5 separate regions of the Homo sapiens genome follow, and all the other regions are linked to region 1. The links are contacts of gene promoters, found by promoter capture Hi-C in blood cells and fetal thymus (Javierre and others, 2016). All regions are on one chromosome and are shown on one strand. Each heading gives the region's core, a stretch centred on a gene start or on the middle of the fragment in contact. The rest is flanking DNA. Distances are from core to core; before and after follow the strand shown. Region 1 holds the start of C10orf67 (chromosome 10 open reading frame 67). Region 2 has its middle 60 kb from the start of OTUD1. Region 3 has its middle 99 kb from the start of OTUD1. Region 4 has its middle 42 kb from the start of OTUD1. Region 5 overlaps LOC105376454 (a long non-coding RNA gene).

The links. The method cuts DNA at HindIII sites, captures the fragments that hold promoters and counts their contacts. A CHiCAGO score of 5 or more calls a contact.
Region 2: a contact is called between a fragment that was not itself captured here and the fragment with the promoter of C10orf67 in region 1, in 1 of 17 cell types (monocytes). The highest score is 6.9, in monocytes.
Region 3: a fragment that was not itself captured here is called in contact with the fragment with the promoter of C10orf67 in region 1 in 5 of 17 cell types (total B cells, monocytes, non-activated CD4 T cells and 2 more); the score reaches 5.9 in total B cells.
Region 4: a fragment that was not itself captured here is called in contact with the fragment with the promoter of C10orf67 in region 1 in 1 of 17 cell types (monocytes); the score reaches 5.9 in monocytes.
Region 5: a contact is called between a fragment that was not itself captured here and the fragment with the promoter of C10orf67 in region 1, in 2 of 17 cell types (monocytes and M0 macrophages). The highest score is 5.2, in monocytes.

The regions. Positions count from the first base shown.
Region 1 is chr10:23,343,380-23,346,181 of GRCh38, forward strand. C10orf67 (chromosome 10 open reading frame 67) reads right to left here and starts at 1,418. Exons shown (of 16, transcript NM_001371909.1): 1 at 1,190-1,418. The coding sequence starts at 1,395. It overlaps C10orf67-AS1 (C10orf67 antisense RNA 1), which reads left to right and starts at 578. Exons shown (of 2, transcript NR_155752.1): 1 at 578-711; 2 at 1,045-1,782. RefSeq lists a silencer at 2,541-2,802. The HindIII fragment of the contact is 9,174 bases long and covers 1-2,802 here.
Region 2 is chr10:23,497,596-23,500,295 of GRCh38, forward strand. No RefSeq gene overlaps it. Among named protein-coding and RNA genes, the nearest start is that of OTUD1, 60 kb to the left of the region's middle. The HindIII fragment of the contact is 3,870 bases long and covers 1-2,700 here.
Region 3 is chr10:23,536,994-23,539,724 of GRCh38, forward strand. No RefSeq gene overlaps it. Among named protein-coding and RNA genes, the nearest start is that of OTUD1, 99 kb to the left of the region's middle. The HindIII fragment of the contact is 1,884 bases long and covers 323-2,206 here.
Region 4 is chr10:23,480,118-23,482,817 of GRCh38, forward strand. No RefSeq gene overlaps it. Among named protein-coding and RNA genes, the nearest start is that of OTUD1, 42 kb to the left of the region's middle. The HindIII fragment of the contact is 980 bases long and covers 808-1,787 here.
Region 5 is chr10:23,556,267-23,559,050 of GRCh38, forward strand. It overlaps LOC105376454 (a long non-coding RNA gene), which reads left to right. Exons shown (of 9, transcript XR_930754.3): 4 at 1,370-1,547. Among named protein-coding and RNA genes, the nearest start is that of OTUD1, 120 kb to the left of the region's middle. The HindIII fragment of the contact is 685 bases long and covers 1,034-1,718 here.

The sequences.
Region 1 (2,802 bases), core at 168-2,667:
GTCTGTGCAGAAGGGACCCTCATCAGACCTGGAATCTGCCAGTGGGCTTCCCAGCCTCCAGAACTGGGAGAAACAAATTCCTGTTGCTTATAAGCCACCCAGCCTATGTTGTTTTGTTACAGCAGCCCGAGGGGACTAAGACGGGTACTGTGTCCTAGATTAGCTCATTTAATATTCACTATGATCTATGAAGCAGGCACTACTCTTCATCATTCATGAACGATTATTTCCCGCTGAGAAAACTGAGGCACAGAGCAGTCAGTCGCCTAACTCACGGCCCCTGTGAGAGGGTCGCCAAGATTCTGGAATCCGGGCAGTCTGGCTCCAGAGTCCGTGCTCTTAGTGTCCAGCTATACACTTGAAGAAGTGAAAACTGCAGCTCTTTTCGGACAGTGATCCCCTCGAAAAACAAACAAAAAACTGAAGCCCAGCGGCTGGAGCAAGGGGCCTGGAAAGGCGTTGAGCGAGGGCCGGGGCGCGAGGGCTCCGGGGCGGGCCGGCGGGGACTGCCTCTCCCGCTGGTCACCTGGGGTTGAACTGGAATTGTTCAATAGAGGCCTCGAGGCCCTCCATGATCTTCCGGCCCTCCTCTGTCTCAGGCGAGTCGCCCCAGTTCGCCATTGCAGCCCCGGACGTGCGCCTCCCGCGGAGCCGCTCGCTCTCCTGAGTCGGAGTCGGGAACCCGGCGTCCGTTGCCATGGCGACTCCCAGGTAACCGGCGAAGCGCGGGAATCCGTGGGCGGGGGCCGGGGAGGGCCGCGAGTGGAGGGGGGTGGGGAACGGGGTGGGGAGGGGAAGGGGGAAGGAGATGGGGAGGAGGGGGATAGGGAGAAGGTTGGGGATGGGGGGGAAGGGGAGAGGGAAAGGAAGTAGAGGAGGTGTGGAGGGAAGGAAGAGGGGGAAGGAGTGGGGGAAGGGGGAAGAGATGGAAAGGAGGATGGGGAGGGAGCACGCGCGGGAGGAGGGGAGTGGAGAGGGGGAGGAGGAGGCGGGGCGGGCTCCCAAGCCACCCCGCTGCGCTTTCACTGTCCCGCCTGCCTCAAGGCTTCCCCACAAGACTCCCACAGCCTGGAGGCTGCTGCGATACCCCAGAGGAAAGCTGCACCCCCGTAAATAACCCTTCAGCCTCCCGCCGTGCCCCTGGACCCTGCTCGCTTCCTCCTCTACCCAGGCGCGGAGCTCAGCCTACCTCGTGGACCCGCGCATTTGCGGGGGCTTGAATTCCCGAGCTTCTCGCTTCCTACGCGCGCAGCAGACCCGCAGCTCGGTGGCCTTGGCTTTCATGGCCTCCCAGCGTGTGCCAAAGGTCCCCCTCAAGGAGGAGGAAAAGCAGTGAACCCATCTAATAACTATGCTCATGACATAATGAGCCCTGCGATCCCGGACCAAGGCCATCATAAGAGGAGAGCAGGCTGCCTAATAAGCTGTCTCCACCTGCCACAAACGTAGGCGTTCCTGGACAAAATATTTCCTTGCAGAGATTAAACAGATTTCTATTTAATGAGGTCAGAATGTGAGGCGTTAAGTCTTAAACTATACCATCTAGTGTGGAATTCAATTTTACCAGGTTTCTACAATAATAAGAGTTAATAGTGAAACTGTTGTCATCCTTAGTTTTAAATTATGTATCACTCATTGTCAACTAATAGGAGACACCTATTCTAATATCAGTATGTCATTGTTTTTCTGTAAACGACTGGCTAAATTTATTTTTAAAATGTCATTGTCTGGTTTAGAACTGTCTATACTACATCTGCATTTCAATATATTATCTACAGAAAAATAAGTTTTTTCTCCTCTCTCTTATTATTATTATTATTATTTTTTGGAGCCGGAGTCTCGCTCTGTCGCCCAGGCTGGGGTGCAGTGGCGCGATCTGGGCTCACTGCAACCTCCGCCTCCCGGGTTCAAGCAATTCTCCTGCTTCAGCCTCCCGAGCAGCTGGGACTACAGGCACACAGCACCAAGCCAGGCTAATTTTTTGTATTTTTAGTAGAGACGGGGTTTCACCGCGTTGTGCAGGCTAGTCTAACTCCTGAGCTCAGGCAATCTGCCCCCCTCGGCCTCCCAAAGTGCTAGATAACAGGCGTGAGCCACAGAGCCCGGCCTCTTCTCTGTCTTGTAACAGTAAGTGAAAATAACTTAGCTGGATTTAGAAGCTCAAAACAGGAAAAGAAAAGCACTGTAGCATTATCACTACTATTATGTTTAAAGACAAAGATTAAAAGCCCCAAATGCCAATAAAACATCATAACCAATGCCAAAATCATCTTCTGTGAAGGCTTATTTTTTGGGGGGGAGATGAAGAGAGAAGAGAAAAAGAGTTACTTTTACTCTTTGGAGGTTTTTAATTACAAACTCTAACTTCAGACTTTATTTGGGGAATTTTTATTATATAATCAAAAGGTATTTTAAAAGAAAGAAATTTATATATCTACAATAACTTTTCTTTTTCCTAAGTGATATTTTACCACAATGTATATACATGTTTTAAAATAAAGATTAAAATTTTAAGTTAAAATTTCAAAACCTATCTGTTTAGAGCTGGGCCAAGACAGTGTAAAGAATGTGACAAGCTGTTGGCTATTTTCCTAGTGCAATTATAAATGAATCGTTTGAAACTGAGGAGAGAGATCGCACAGAAGATTTCATGAGTCATTGGTCAGCTCTGTACAGCATTTGTTGACTGATATAGTCTGCATAGTTACGCCATCCCACAAAAACATGCATTGAACAGAACATCTTTGTTTGAAACCTTGCTATAGCATATCAAGGAGTTTCAGATTTCAGTGTCTAAGAGAC
Region 2 (2,700 bases), core at 122-2,621, 150 kb after region 1:
GAGGATTAGTATAAAAGTACATGTGAATCTATGCTCTTCTTTTATTTAATTGAATATATATGTTTATATATATATTTGTATTATATATATGTATTTTATATATATATATATATATATAGAGAGAGAGAGAGAGAGAGACAAGCTCTCGCTGTGTCAGCCAGGCTGGAGTGCAGTGGCGCAATCACAGCTCACTGCAGCTTTGACCACCTGGGCTCAAGCAGTCCTCTCACCTCAGCCTCCCAAGAAACTGGGACTGCTGGTGTGCACCACCATGCTCAGCTACTTTAAAAAAATGTTTTGTAGAGATATGGGTCTCACTGTGTTGCCCAGGCTGGCCTTGAATTCCTGGGCTCAAGCAATCCTCCTGCTATGGCCTCCTAAAGTGCTGAGATCACAGGCGTGTGTGACTGCACCTGGCTAAGCTGTGTTCTTTTTATTCTTTACCAACATGAGAACTCAAGAGTAGACAGACACTCAGACTTCCCCCAAAGTCAACCTTGCACATAGGTGAATTTTACAGCTACAAGATTACAGGACTATCAGCAGTTCTATTTTTTTTTTCCCCCATTTGGTCATTTATAAGCCAGTAGTGACACCATCCTTTTCCCTGTAAATCTCCTGAAAGAAATCCCAAATATTAGACTATTGCTTTGGGTTACACACTAAACAGGTAAATGATCTCCTGGACCACTAGAACCCACTACTAAAATATATATTTGGTACCATAATCTCTCTGGTCTGTTTCCTCATCTATAAAATGGGAATAATAGTAGTATCCACCTAATAGAATTTTTAAAAGTACTTATTTATAGTATGAAATAGAGACAGGGTCTCCTTGTGTTGCCCAGGCTGGTCTCGAACTCCTGGGCTCAAGCAATCTTTCTACCTTGGCCTCTCAAAGTGCTGGGATTTCAGGTGTAATCACCATGCCCAGCCTACAGCTGTCATGAAGAGTAAATATTAATACACGTAAAGCCCTTAGAACAGTGCCTACCATAGAGCAGTCCACCAATTAAAGTGACACATTTATTACCTAAGAGGGAAGAGAGAATAAGCCATCTTCCATGAAGCTGTCAGCGAAGAGTGGCAGAAAAGTGGAGGCGATTGAAACTGGGTGAATTTGGCAGTTCAGAGTCAGATTTCATGGCACTGGGGCAAAGGAAGCTGCCCAGGAGGGGTGCACCATGACCAAGATTTATCTGTCTGCTTAGGAGGGCATTTCCCGTGGACATGGTGTCTCCCAGTGTGTGGCCAGGGGAAGGCAGGGGCAGCCCACATCTGCCTTCAACCTGTTGTCATCTCTGAGCACAAGCCCCAGCCTGGGCAGCCTTTGAAGGATGCTGCTTTCTTCCACTCCAGACACAGGGTCCGTCTAACATTAAATAGGATGATACATTTGTTTTTTTTTTTATTTTGAGACTCTTGCGCTGTCGCCTAGGCTGGAGTGCAATTGCACGGTCTCAGCTCACTGCAGTCTCTGCCTTCTGGGTTCAAGCGATTCTCCTGCCTCAACCTCCTGAGTAGCTAGGATTACAGGCATGTGCCACCACACCTGGCTAATGTTTGTATTTTTAGTAGAGATGGGGTTTCATCATGTTGGCCAGGCTGGTCTTGAACTTCTGACCTCAAATGATCCACCTGCCTCAGCCTCTCAAAGTGCTGGGATTACAGGCGTGAGCCACCGCACCCGGCCAAGGGATGCTACTTCTTTTCCAGGCTCTCATTTCACATATCCAAATGGGGGAAAAAAAAAACAAAAAAAAAAAACATGTTGTTTACCTCTTTAAGCCTGTGTAGTCAGATACTTTTCTTAACCAACCTCTTTACTCAAAGAATTGCAATGCCTCCTCCAGGTGTATATTTAGAAATGTTGCCATGGTCACTGTTTCCAGTTTGGGCGTCTGTCATTTGGCTGTTACAGCCTGCAGGTGAGATGCTTCTCATGGCCACATCACATCATGTCTGGGTGAGCATGGGGGTGGGGAGTGAGGGGCCCAGAAAAGCCTGTTACTGCCGTCAGCACCCTTGCTGATTGCTTTATGATTTTACTTTAATTGGGCAGGTCACATGGCCTCCCTGGAGCGACATTCTGCCCTTTATGAAATGAGACTGCTGGCTGAGCCTCTAGAGCACCTTCAAGCTCTGATGTCGTATTTGATTGATGTGACCCCAATCACTAAGAAGTTGACTTACTCTAGGGCTGCTAACGTATTTCTTACATACCCGTTACAAAAGCAAAACCAGAGACCTTTTCTACTCAGTAACAATCTCGAATAGATTGGATCTAGTGACCCCGAAGCCACTGTGACAGTTGATTTCTCCCTGGGCTCCATTCCCTCTGGTCTGACCCCTACTGTCCCAATTGACTTGAAACAGGCTTTGCTGTTATTTACTTTCTGAAGACTCCCAAACTTTAAGCCAGTTCATCAGAAAACCTCCTGGGCTCCTGAGACTTCATGGAAGTAAAAGGTTTTAATTCTAGTCTATGCAGGATTGGTCTGAACACGGCGAGACTGTTCAAAATAAGTATTATCTGGGACTCTTCTGTTATTGACAATAGCTGATTTAATAAGTGCTCAGTAATACTTTGAATAGGGTCACTTTCCAGATATGATCCTGATAATATTCGCTAGGCATTTGGCAACATTGCTTCATGACATTTATAAGCAAATTGCTTAGCAACTGTGGAGAGAGGGCATG
Region 3 (2,731 bases), core at 15-2,514, 190 kb after region 1:
AAGAGCTAGCTTTGTTATAAATGAAAAGAACACATTGAGGGTAGGAAAACCCTGCAAATACTTGGAATTTTGATTTTTAATTTCTAAAGAAATTCTGATTTGATTTCTAATCCTAGCCTCTTAGGTTTTCCCAGAGGCATCTTGCTATCTTACTTGTCTTTTCTTTCTCTAGAATCTTCAGTTTTTCTCTTTTGATTCCTTTCTCTTGCCCATGTCTACTCCATCTTGGGAAAAACCATGAGTGACCTAGTCTTGACTGTACCTGCTTTCTCTAGTTTTTTAAAAATACCTGTTTCTCCCTTCCACTCCCTCCATTTCTTCAAGCTTCTTCTCTTGAAGGTCCAAGTAACCTCTCTGTGAAGTTCAAAGACATTTGTCATTTCTACTATTTCTTGCTCCTTTATTTCCTGTAATACTGGAAAGTCCAGCACCTTTGCTTCTTTTTTCCTTTTCACCTCTCGTCTTCCTCCCACCCTCTCACTGTGGGTTTCTCCAATGCTTATTTCTTAGAACTCTGCTGTTCTTTTGATACATTTTCCCCTTTGCAAAGGTCATCTGTTTTCAAAGTTTCATCTCTCCCTTTCATACAAGCTCTTTTAGATCTATCTATACCTTTGTCATTTCCTCTTACATGAATGCCAGTATTTATTTCCAAATTCTTCCTGGAAATTTCCATTTAAATATTTTACGGTCACCATTAAACTCAAAGTGCACAAGCCTGAGCTTATAATCAGTGTTTTCCACATGGAAATAAATTTTTGAAGAAAGATGAGGGGTCTATTGGGAAAGAACTCACTTAAAGTTGAGAAAATTGCAATTAGTAAAATATCTAATTATTATTTTAATAACAATAATAATAGAAAAACACAAAGCATGTGCATTAAACCTGGCACCATTTTAAGTACCTTATATGGATTAACTTATTTAAACCTTAAAACAGTTATTATTCTTATTTTACAGTTGAAGGAATTCAGCCTAGAAATGCTAAAGCAACAGCCCCCCAACAAATGACATCACATGGCTGTTAAGTGGAGGATACAAATTCATCTCAGGCAATGTCGTTGAATTAATGGAGTCTACTCCTAACCAATACATTATATTTCCATGCCCTGTTTTCTAATTTCCCATGCTCAAAACTATACTCATTAACATTCTTTTTTTTTTCCAGTCCAATCCATAACTTCTCTACTTCTCTTTCAAAATGTTTTTGTTGTGTCTATCAGTCAGGGTCTGCAAAGGCACAGATGGTCCATTCCAAAAAGACACAGAGGGATGGTTCAGAAAACCAGGAAGAGATGAGGAGGCTCCCAGGTATTAAACTATTGGGATGCTGTTACCACTCCTAGTATTGAAAGGACAAAAGGGATGGGCAATGCTCTGGGTTGCCAGTTCAGAGAAAGCTGATCGATGGAGCTGGGTCTACCCACCAGTTCCCAGAGGAACACAGCCGCTATTGAACACTGCAGAGGCATGGCATAGGGTGAGGAGGTGAGTGTGGAAAGCAAATGCCCACCCCTTCTCTCCAAGAGCCTTCCAATTTCTTGCTTGTGCTTTGTAACCTCATGCCTGGATCCTTACTACCTCTTCAATAACCTTACTTCATTCCCTTCTGCTCTATCCCACCACACATTGCCAGATCAGTCTCTGAGATGCTGCGTTCCTTATGCCATTTTTCTTCTCACAACCTTGAATGGCTGGGAACTACTCCTCAGTTTGTTGTTGGTGATCCCCAAATCCTGAGTCCAATCTCTCATTCCAGTGTTATCTTCTGCAGGTCTCCTAGCCCCTTGCTCTAATTGGCCTCCTCACCATTCCCCTCTCTACACACAGCTCATTTTCCTGCCTGCTTCAAATGCCATTACATAGCCCTCTGTACACGTGGAACAATTTTTGTCTTCCATCTACATATTATATATCCTTCAAGGCCCATCTCCTCTGCAGACCTTCTCTGACTGCTCCTACATACATGGGTTCCTCTGTTTTCTTTGATTTTTGTTGAATTGCGGGTAGCATCTTACCAATCCTGTCTTAATTATGTTTGTGTTTGTTTCATGATTGTGCATCTTGTCTCCTCTAGCTGAAGGGTGAGGATTCTAAATCAGTGGTATGGTCCATGGTTCATTGGTGTGACTCATTTTTTAAGCTGTAACAAACAGTTTGAAGGGGCATAGTTCATGTGTCTCAGCAAAGAGTGATCTATGCTCTAAGCTTCTTACTATAAAACCAGGGGAATCCCAGCCTCAGGTACCTCTCTCTCGTCGCAGGGTCCCAGGTGTTCCCCTTTGCTGCTAGAAGCATGTCAGATCAGTGCCCCAAGATCATCTCTGCAGTGCTTGGTCTTTGCTGCTGTAGGTTGTAGGCCTTACTGCAATAGGTCTTTGACGTTGATCAGTGCTCAGTAAACACCTTTCAACTTTCTTTCTGGGAATTGTTCATTTCCATGGGCTCTGCATGCTTTTCAATGTTCATGGTGCAAACCATCCTGTTTGCCAAGAATTGCCTGTTGGGATGAGATTATTTGAAGTATAACAAAGCTTCATACCTCCAGAGAATTCTAGCCTGCTGACGCTTACTTAGTATCTGTGGCTGAAGTTGGTCCATGTCAACTCTTCCCCACTCTAGGGCAATGCTGGGGACATGGTCTTCATTTCTCTTCTTTGCTCAAGAATTTCAGTGCTGGAGTTGACTGTGAGCTCTGTTCAACTGGGAAACCTCTGAGAAACTCTCTGTG
Region 4 (2,700 bases), core at 48-2,547, 140 kb after region 1:
CCAGTCATCACTTTCTCTTCCCTGGAGGCATGCTCATTGGGCCGATTTTCTCTAATAACTTTCCTAACTGGAGAGGGTGCATGCACACATTTTAAATTAAGAGAGGATTTCTACAGGCAAACAGAACACGTTCTCCCCTTGTTGCAATATTTGTCTTCTGGGAAAGGACTTGCAGAGCCTTGTGGTAAGTTGCTTAATAGTGGTCATGGTCGGTTAATCTCATTTTTCCCTCTAAGAGAGAGGGGACAAAATAACTGCCTGGTGAATATCAGGGTCCCTAGGCTTATATGGGGAAATTGGATGAAAGTTCTCCCAGGACAGCAATGTTTTATTCTGAAATCAAAAATTGGCTTTCCAGGGCAGGGATTTTGAGGGGAGTCCATAATCCTCAGGGAAGTCCTTGGTCTTTGGGTGGGCTCCTGGATGGTGGAGATTCTTCTAAAAGGAGGCAACACAGTTTTTTTTTTTTTTTTTTTTTTTAAGACAGAATCTCGCTCTGTCACCAGTCTGGAGTGCAGTGACACGATCTCGGCCCACTGCAACCTCTGTCTCCCGGATTCAAGCAATTCTCCTGCCTCAGCCTTCTGAGTAGCTGGGAGTACAGGCACGTGACACCATGTCTGGCTAATTTTTTTTGTATTTTTAGCAAAGACGGGGTTTCACCATGTTGGCCAGGTTGGTCTTGAACCCCTGACCTCAAATGATCCACTCTCCTTGGCCTCCCAAAGTGCTGAGATTACAGGTATGAGCCACTGTGCCCAGCCTAGCACTGTCTTTTTTGTGTGTACATTTTATCAGTTTTTAAAAAGCTTCTCTGACTTCTAAAATCATTCTTAGAAATTCTTCTGCAGCATTCCCGAAGCTAAGACTTGCTCTGCAAATTACATTAAAAGTAATTCTTAATTCTTATGTGAAACTTTTATGCCATTATCCCATTTCGTTTTTCACAATTTTAAATAAAACAGATAAAACACCAAGGACATAAAAGCAGTACAGATGGCCCCGACTTTCAATGTTCAGCTTACAATTTTCTGACTTTAGGATGGTGCAAAAGCAATATGCACATGGTAGAAACTGTCCTTTTAAAAATTTGGGGCCAAGTGTGGTTTCTCATGCTTATAATCCCCATACTTTGAGAGGCCAAGGCTGCAGGATTGCTTGAGCTCAGGAGTTTGAGACGAGCCTGGGAAACATGGTGAGACCCCATTTCCACAAAAAATAAAAAAATTAGTCAAGTGTGGTGATGCTTACCTGTGGTCGTAGCTACTCAGGAGGCTAAGGTGGGAGGATTGCTTGAAGCCCAAGAGGTTGCCGTTAGAGAACCATAGAGCATTCAAGAATGTGAGCAAGCATACATTTCCCATTTATTATTTCCATAAGAAGAAAGCCTGGATGACATCAACATTGTGCAAAGACTTGTTTCAAACCGGTTTTAGTCCACAGGCAAGAGAATACTATTGGCAAAACAACATCCCATGCAAGATTCTTCTGATGCTAGATAATGCTCTGGGGCAAGCACAGCATATTGGTGACATGCATCCTGATGTAAATGTTGTGTATTTGCCACCAAACAAAACTGCACTAATTCAACCAATGGACTAAAGCACAAGAGCTGGGTTCATAGCATACTATGTACACCAGATGTTTGCACAGGCTGCTGAAATGACTGAATCTGGCCAAATGCTCCTAGAGTTTTGGAAAGGTTCTAACATTCTAAGTGCTATCCAGAACATGACTGCAGCACAGGAAGAAGTCACACAGCAATGCATAAATTGCTTTTGGAAGAAAGCTTTGAAGACATATGTGAACACATTCAAAGGCTTTAACAAAGACCCTGCTGTTGATGGAATAGTAACAGTGTATTAGTGCTTGGGAAACAGGTGGAATTTGACATTGATGAGGAGGATGAGCTTGTTGGCTTTGAGGCTGAAGAATTTATCAATGAGGAGCTGATCAAACGGGAGTAAGAAAGAAGTAAAGAACTTGAGGCAGAGGAAGAAGTTTTACCCAAGGCACCAAGAAAGTGCACAGCAATGAAGCTGCAGAGGTGTTTGCTATGATTAGCAGTGGTGTATAGATGTTATAAGAAGTGGATGTATTAAAAAGACACATGTCCTCGTGTGTTCATTGCAGTGCTGTTCACAATAGCGAAGACATGGAGTCAACCTTGGTGCTCATCAATGGTGGTGTGGATGAAGAAAATGTGGTACATATATACCATAGAATACTATGCAGCCTTAAAAAGAACGGAATCATGTCCTTTGCAGCAACATGGATGGAGCTGGAGGCCATTATCCTGAGTGAACTAATGCAATAATAGAAAACCAAATACCAGATGTTCTCCCTCATAAGTGGGAGCTAAACATTGAATACACATGAATGTAAAGACAATAGACACTGGGGAGTACTAGACGGGGAGGGAGGGAGGGGAGCATGGGCTGAAAAACCACCTGTTAGGTACTATCCTCACTGCCTGGGTGACAGAATTGTTGGAATCTCAAGTCTCAGTATCATGCAATATACCCATGTAACAAACCTGCACATGTAGCCTTTAATCTTTTTTTTTTTTTCTTGAGACAAGGTCTCACTCTATTGCCCAGGCTGGAGTGCAGTGGCGTGATCATGGTTCACTGCAACCTCCACCTCCTGGGTACAAGCAATTCTCCTGCCTCAGCCTCCGAGTAGCTGGGATGACAGGTG
Region 5 (2,784 bases), core at 126-2,625, 210 kb after region 1:
TAGAGACAGAGTCTCACTATGTTGCCCAGGCTGGTCTTGAACTCCTGGACTCAAGCAATTCTCCTGCCTCAGCCTCTCAAAGTACTGGGTTTACAAGTGTGAGCCACCGTGCCCAGCCTTTCTCCAAGGTTTGGTTGCAGTTGTATCCTTCCATTATCTCAGATGTCAGCACAGCAGGTTGTAACCTAGTTTTCGTAGGGCACCTAAATGGTTAAATCAAAAGGGTGATAACAGTAGCCAGTGATATTTCTCTTCTCTGCAACAACAAACTCTTGTAGGACCCCCGATTTCTCTCTTTGATGTTCTTCTCAAATATCTCAGGAAACCCTCAGGGGAATTTTGGTGGATTTTCAAGCACAGTCCTCTTTGGTTCCTTGCAGAGCCTGATATCGCCCACTCTCCTGCTAAGCCTCTCCTGTGGTGACCTGCTGCACTGTTCTTTGATGCCCACCACGGCACTAGGAAGGTGCCCAGCACAGTCAGGTTACCCTTTGGTCAAACCACATGGACTGTCTACCTGCTGTGTCACTGATGCTGCAGAAGATGTTGTATTCTCTACCAAAGTGCGGAGAGTCTGTCCCCTTGTACCCAAACATCATGTAATACTCTCACCTGGCCAGAGCAGTGCTGCCTTGGGCTCTAAACACACTCTTGTCTGCATGCAGTTGAGTAGCTGGATGGGCTCAGTGATATGCTCAATGTCCTCCTTACTCTCCAGTTGGCCAATAGTTCTTGGGGCCTTGACATTGAACCAAGCTTGTGTGCCTGACTTCCAGCCTCTTCCGTCTTGGTTCCATGCATAAATAGACTCTAGGGTCCCATTGGGGCCTTCCGGATACCACCAGAATGCCTGAATCTTAAGCTGACTACAGTTTAGGTTCAAGCTAGAATCCTTTCTGCTCATCTGAGGAAATGTCTAAGGAAATGACTCAGAATCATGTATTAAGTTTGAATCATCCTAGTAGGCCTGGGCCATCTGCTCATACGTGGTAAGGAAAGAATTGTGGTTTCAGGCATATGGCTTTTGCTATTAAGCTTTATTGTCGTCTCTTATTGGTGAGAATGATATATTGTTTAAAACTAAGGAGTTGTGATAGCATGTTACTGAACCTACAGCAAAATACCATCTCAGTTACATTTATGATTTGATGCCTAAACTAATGGAATGAGCATGAGAGCAGCAATGAGTGGTGCATGCAAAGAATTGGGACATGGACAAAAAACAGGCTATTTCTTATTTATTGGCAACTTTTTACAAAATTGAGAGCGGCTGGCAGTTGTCAGAAAGAAGGCCTGGATGGTCAATCTCCTTGTACCGATGGTGAGTATTGACAATAATTTTTTTTTGTATTTCTTTTCACTTCCAAAGGATAGGGAAATTTGGCGACCTCAACCTGTCCAAGTCTTCAGGATCTGCTGCTGCCACTGTTCACTGCAATTCCTTAGGTTTAGCTTAATTGGCGCCATTGGGAACATGTAGAAATTCATTTTAGAGAGTGCTACCTTGATGACTTAACGGTCTTACAATAGTAGGCAGAGACAGAAAGGTGAGTATCAGATATGTGCTTTAGAAGCATGTTGCTTTAATCCAATCTCCGCTTTTAGACAGACCTCATGATAAAAACTTCCTTACGGCTTTCTAACCTATTCTAATATGTATCCTAAAGACATCCTGTGGTTACGTATCCTGTGTCTCACAGGCATTATTATTTAGAGAAAGCTTTCCAACTTTTGAAACTTGAGTCATTTATTCCAGTTTTATCTTTAGTGAAAATGACAGATTCTTATTTAATTCTTCTGGCTTTAAATTGCATGTGGAATGGGATGTGAAGGAATGCATCTAAGTTCTGAAGTCAGACAGACCTGAATTTAAACCTTGGTTTCACCACTTGCTAGGTGTGTGACCTTTAGCAAGTCACTTAACCTCTCTGAATTTCTCTTTATTCAACTCTAAAGTGGGGATATAATGCACATATTGTCAGGTATCATAGAAATTAAATAAAATAATGGATGTGAACATGGCTGGCATACCTTACTGTTCAACAGTTGTCCTTGCCCTATGTGTTATTTTCAGATATGCCGTAAATCCAAGTCATTATTTCATATTGATCTGGCTGCTTATGTAACAGGTGACGTCAGCAAAGAAAGAGTTCGTTACAGTAAAGGAAATCTTTAGAAAGCTAGTTACAGCTTGAAGATTGGACTGGGATCCGGGAGATGGAATTATTTTGCAACCTAAGATTAGTTCAGGGAAAAAGATTAATGAGTCACATTATGCAAACAGATCAAGCTAATGAAAAATGAAAATGTTCTGGTTTGCAGCTTGAGTTGATTTAATAATATTTGTGCAATAACAACATTAAATTCAAGGTCTCTTCCAGCAAATTGGACTTTACCCGGAACTTTTCTCTCAGAGGAAAGGTCCTCCTCCCTGGAATCACAATCTAACTGATCGCTTTGGGTGCAGCCCTCTCTGTGGTGCAATTTTAGGGCCGTCTAGAGTTCTCCCTCCCTCTGTGAGTCTCAAACACTCGGCTCTTTCTCTTCCTTCCTCTGATGTAGCTATTGAGGTGATTGTCGCTTTCATCTACCTCTTTCTATGAATTAAGTTATCTGATCGAATTATAGAGTAAGCCAGAATCAGAGATTAATACGTAATTGGCACACATTTATCTGATTAACCCTAGCAGGGAATAGAGTTCCAAGTTAAATGTTGTTGAGGAAGAACAAGTCGGGTTCCAGAATGGGATCTTTGGGAAGAAGCCTGTAATCTACAGGGGCTGA